2 separate regions of the Homo sapiens genome follow, and region 1 is linked to region 2. The links are contacts of gene promoters, found by promoter capture Hi-C in blood cells and fetal thymus (Javierre and others, 2016). All regions are on one chromosome and are shown on one strand. Each heading gives the region's core, a stretch centred on a gene start or on the middle of the fragment in contact. The rest is flanking DNA. Distances are from core to core; before and after follow the strand shown. Region 1 has its middle 13 kb from the start of DSG2-AS1. Region 2 holds the start of B4GALT6 (beta-1,4-galactosyltransferase 6).

Region 1 (2,700 bases), core at 100-2,599, 110 kb after region 2:
CAAGTCTTGTTCTTTGTCTCCTATATACTATTTATCCCCTTTATCCTTGTATCTCCTCAAATCTTCCACCTGACAGCTTCCCCAATGATAAACTTCTTGCATCGGTGCGGTGCATTTGTTGTAACTGATAGCCAATATTGATGCATTATTCTCAACTGAAGTCCATAGTTTACATTAGGATCCACTTTGTGTTGAATGAGGTTTTGACAATTGTATGATAACACATATCCGCCATCACCGTATCATATGGAATAGTTTCACTGCCCTAAAATCCCCCTGTATTCCGCCTAGTTATCCCCCTCTCTTTCCCTACCTCCCCTGCAACCCCTGGCAACCACTGGTCTTTTGACTGTCTCCATGGTTTTGCATTTTCCAGAATGTCAGATAGTTGGAATCATATAGTATGTAGCCTTTTCAGATTGGCTTCTTTCACTTAGTAATACGCATTTAAAATTTCTTCATGTCTTTTCATGGCCTGATACCTCATTTCTTTTTATCGTTGAATCGTATTTTGTTGTGTGGATGCACTACAATTTGTTTATCCACTCACCTATTGAAGGGCAACTTGATTGCTTCCAAGTTTTGGCATCAACTATGCCAAATTATAAATAAATAAAGCTACTATAAATACTTATGTCCAGGTTTTTGTGTGCAGGTTTTGATTGGCAGCTGGAATGACTGACCTAGCTTTAAGAATGATCTTAGCTTCTCCAATTATATGTGTTTATTTTAGCATGGTTTGCATCATCTACTACATACAGAGATTTCTCATTTCTCTGAGCTAATGCTTCCTCGTTTAAAGAGAAACAATCATTGTCATATAACTGCAGGCATGGTGGCTTATGCTTGTAATCCCGGCACTTTGGGAGGCCAAGGCAGGAGGATCGCTTAAGGCTAGGAGTTCAAGACCAGCCTGGGCAGTGTAGTGAGACCTCATCTCTACCAAAAAATAATTAGCTGGGCATAGTGGCATATCCCATAGTCCCAGCTACTTAGGAGGCTGAGGCAGGAGGATTGCTTGAGCTCAGGAGTGTGAGTCTGCAGTGAGCTGTGATCAAGCCACTGCACCCCACCCTGGGTGGCTGAGTGAGACTCCTTCTCAATTAAAAAGAAAATTTAAATGAAAGTCATATAACTTGCAGAATTCTGGAGTTCGGGAACCTCTCAAGGCCCAAGTCCACACAATGTCCTTCAGCTTCCAGGCTTGATTAGACTTAGGGGACTCTATCACTCTCACAGCAATTAGCAACCATGGAGCTTTAACCCAGAGAAAGATCTCACATGGGGGTTTCTGGAACATGGCAGGCCATTCATAGCACTTGGCCATAGGCTAGCTCCCTAGTGACTTTCAATCCCACTGTTCCTTCTCCTAAAACTGGCTCAAGCAAGGAGAGCTTCTCACCAGCTAATGCACCCCAGAGCACTGCTCAGGTTTAGGTGAACAACTGTGAGAACTATTAGGGAGGAGTTTTTACTGGTGGGGGACCTAATCCACATGTAGACCAAGAGGGAAATGCCTGAATCTTGTTTGTCCCTCCCTATTTAGGCAATAGGGCTGTGGAATCAGTTTCCTGATCATTCTGCTGACTTAGCCCTGCCCTTTACTTTTACTTGAGGGCTGAGATGGTAAGATTATCATTTTCTTTTCTTTTCTTCTTTTTTTTTTTGCACTCCTAGGCGTGATCTTGGCTCACTGCAACCTCTGCCTCCCGGGTTCAAGCGATTCTCCTGCCTCAGCCTCCTGAGTAGCTGGGATTACAGGTGCCCACCACCACACCCAGCTAATTTTTTGTATTTTTAGTAGAGTCAGGGTTTTGCCATGTTGGGCAGGCTGGTCTTGAACTCCTGACCTCAGGTGATCCACCAGCCTTGGCCTCCCAAAGAGTTGGGATTGTGGGCATGAACCACTGCACCCGGCCATTCTCATTTTCTATCTGCTCCTATTTTTACACAGCCATTTCTTCTCTTCTAACTTTTAATTGCCTCAATAAAAAAGGATCTTGCAGGCCAGGCATGGTGGCTCACGCCTGTAATCCCAATACTTTGGGAGACCGAGGTGGGCAGATTGTTTGAGGTCAGGAGTTCGAGACCAGCCTGGCCAACGTGGTGAAACCCCGTTTCTACTAAAAATACAAAAAATTAACCGGGCATGGTGGTATGTGCCTGTAATCCCAGCTACCCAGGAGGCTGAGGCAGGAGAATCACTGGAACCTGGGAGGCAGAGGTTGCAGTGGGCTGAGATGGCACCACTGCACTCTAGCTTGGATGACTGAGTGAGATTCCGCTCAAAAAAAAAAAAAATAAAAATAAAAATAAAAAAGAATCTTGCTAGAAATAACTCCCCTGGATGGAGGTATTAGTAAACAAAATTAGCGAATACATGTTGTTCCAAGCTATTAGGTTTTTCTGTTTCTTATTATTTTTCATTCTTTTCAATAATTTTAGTTAACTTTCAATGAAAATAAAAATATGGTCCCGAGGTCAATTGGGATTGATTTTCTTGGTTGATTGAATTAAAATGCCCCTTTCTTGAGTTGCTAGTATCAGAAATAAAGGAGCCGAGGTGAGCAAAGGCAAAAATAAAATGAAGCAGACGCCTTTTTCCAAGTGTATAGATAAAAGAGCCCCAGCGACACACACATTCTAACAAGCTATGTGTGAAAATGCACGTATATATGTGTCTACATTTATAAACCTGGA
Region 2 (2,700 bases), core at 24-2,523:
AGGAAGTGCGGGATAGGAGGGGGGATTCATTAATCCAGGTCGGAAATACACCTTGTTCCTCGAGGATTTTGGAAGGAAATTCCACCCGCGAAGTCCCCTTTTGGAGATGCCCTTTTCCTTTCAGGTACAGCATCCTTCATTATGTACCCCCAGGGTACAATGTATCCGGGGCTCGCAACGCGTCCCTCAACCCCCAGCAGCGCGGTCACCGCGGGGTCCCCGGGCGGGCGGGGGCGGCGGTGACGCAGGAGGCGGTGGGGCCCCGGTGCGGCGGGCGCGGGGAGGGGGCTGCTGGGCGCGGGCCTATCAGGACGCGCGGTGTTTCGGGCGCGGGGAGGGCGGGGACCTCCAGGTTTCCTCGGGGCCCGGCGCAGCGCCGCCTGCCGAGTTCCGAGCGAGCGCGCGAAGCGCGCAGGGGTCTCGAGACGTTCCCGCCGGTCCCGGTTTTCCTCCGCGGCTCCCCCGCCCCTTCACGTCCGCCTCTTTCTCCAACCAGACGCGGCTCCGACGGCGCTCGGCCTCTGCTCTTCCGGCTCCCCGGCTCTGCCCGCAGCGCGCGTCGCCCGGTTGCTCTTCGCCTGGTGTCCGCGGGCCCGGCGGGGGCGCCTCACCCCGGGCGCGCGGCGGTAATGCCGCTGCCGCCCTTGCGGCCAGGCAGGCAGCTGGCGGCGGCCGGAGTCGGAGCGCGTTCGTCGCTGGCCGGGACGCCGCCCTGGCCTGTGCTCAGCTCCCGCGGCGGCCGCGGGGCGCCGGGGCCCGGCGCGGCATGAGGAGGCGGCTCGGTGCAGGCGAGCGCCCAGCTCCTCGGCCCCGAGGGCCCCCGCGGGCCCCCGCGCGTGGCGCGCGCTGGTTGCGGCCCCGGCGCCCACGCTAGCCCCGCGCAGGCAGGAGACGCCGCGGCCCGGAGTAGGAGGCGGCGCAGGGCCTGCCGAGCGGACGCGGGCGGCCCGGACCTTAAGCACGGGGCTTCGCGGCGGGACCCCGCCGGGCGCGGGCAGCGGAGCCGGGCGTGCTGCAGTTAGCTGCCCCTCTCCGCAGGGGCGCCGCGGCGCGCAGCCTGCGCCTCCTCCCACCTGCAGCCCCTCCTCCCGCCGCTGCTTGGCGGAGAAAACGCTCCTCCTCGCCCTTCCCCGGCTTTCTTCCGTCCTGCCGTCCCCGGGCCCCTAGCCCCCAGTCCCCTCTCCCCCCTCCACCTCTTGTCCCTCGGCCTCCGCGCCTCCCCTCCCCCGACTCTCTGGCCTCCCATTCATTCCGTCCGCTCCCTCCCATTTCCTCTTTTCCGCTCGGGCCCTCTCCCCAGAGCCTCCCCGCGCGGACCCCGCTGCAGTCTCGGGGTTCTCAGCACATTTATGGAAGTTTAGGGCCTGGACAGTGGCCCCGAGTCCGGCCTGAGAGCGCAGCCTGGGCTGCTGGCAGGGAAGAGGAAGATGTCTGTGCTCAGGCGGATGATGCGGGTTTCCAATCGCTCTCTCCTCGCCTTCATCTTCTTCTTCTCCCTCTCTTCGTCCTGTCTGTACTTCATCTATGTGGCCCCAGGCATCGGTAAGCACCGAGACACACCCTCGCTTCCCCTGGTCACACCACAGCCAGCGCAGGCTGTTATCCGATGTTACTTCTGGGATTTGGAAGCTGTTCAAACAGGGGCCCGCAGAAAAGCGTTTTGTTTTAAATGTTATTTCAGACGTGTCAAACTGCTTCAGGGCATGGCTTTGGTATGTGAGTTTTGTTAATGCATGCATTTTGTTAATGCATGTTTGTTAATAACGTAAAAGATTGCATTAAATAGACGTAGCAAAATTAGTGTGATGGCCCGGGATGCCCTAGTCGCTTTCTTGAGTGTTCATGACAGCTTTATCCATTTAATGTTAAGTCTTTAAGCCTAAACTGAGTGCTTAATCGTAGTTTTATTCAAACACTCTCGGGTATAATAACTGGTTGTAAAAATATGGAGGAGCCAGCAGCAGGGAATGTGATTGAGTCCAACAATGTGTGTTTTCTAGGGTCCTAGGTCGCTTTTTTAGAATGGGGTCAGTGGACCCCATTCTTTTTGTGCCATACTTGGGGAATTTTAAGGCGATGAGTTGTCTTGTAAAAACAATGCTCCATTATTTTAGTCTGCTTGGGTGTTATTTTCAAGGGTACGTTGCCTTTGCTACCTGTTAGGATGACTTCTGAGAAAATAGTGATTAAAATAACCGTTATCTAAGGGAACTTGTAGTTTAAAATGTTAACCGGTTTATCATTTTTTGGCCTTTGGTGCAAAATACACTTTTGTAAAACTGCTTGAATTAACTTCTTTATTAAATATCCGAATTCCTCGTCCCCCATTTGTTGAAAAGGAGCCAATGCGGCGTTAATTCTAGTGAATGAGAATTATGAACTTCACATGCATATTAAAATATGTCATATTTCCAAAACTTTTCTGAGTTTTTCCTGGCTATTACGTATTTAATGTTCAATTACTTAGTAACAGTGAGCATCTCCTCTCATTTCTCCTTACACACTGTGGTCGTTTGAGCCAGTGCTCTTTGTTCCGAGTTAGCTAAAAATGTAATGCCCCTTACAGAGTGAAAACACCTGCAGAATTTTCAGATGGAATGATCAGGGCATTGTCTTGAGTGTAGTAGATTATTGCAGTGAATTGCAGCAGGGAAGGAAGATGGAAACCTAATCCAGACTGCTTCATTTCTTAAAATTACT

Evidence for each region. Contacts are between HindIII fragments. The CHiCAGO score rates a contact against its expected background, and 5 or more counts as called.
Region 1: a contact is called between a fragment that was not itself captured here and the fragment with the promoter of B4GALT6 in region 2, in 2 of 17 cell types (M0 macrophages and M1 macrophages). The highest score is 7.8, in M0 macrophages.

Annotation. Positions count from the first base shown.
Region 1 is chr18:31,568,782-31,571,481 of GRCh38, reverse strand. No RefSeq gene overlaps it. Among named protein-coding and RNA genes, the nearest start is that of DSG2-AS1, 13 kb to the right of the region's middle. The HindIII fragment of the contact is 5,620 bases long and covers 1-2,700 here.
Region 2 is chr18:31,683,154-31,685,853 of GRCh38, reverse strand. B4GALT6 (beta-1,4-galactosyltransferase 6) reads left to right here and starts at 1,273. Exons shown (of 9, transcript NM_004775.5): 1 at 1,273-1,542. The coding sequence starts at 1,428. RefSeq lists a silencer at 137-1,176. The HindIII fragment of the contact is 10,803 bases long and covers 1-2,700 here.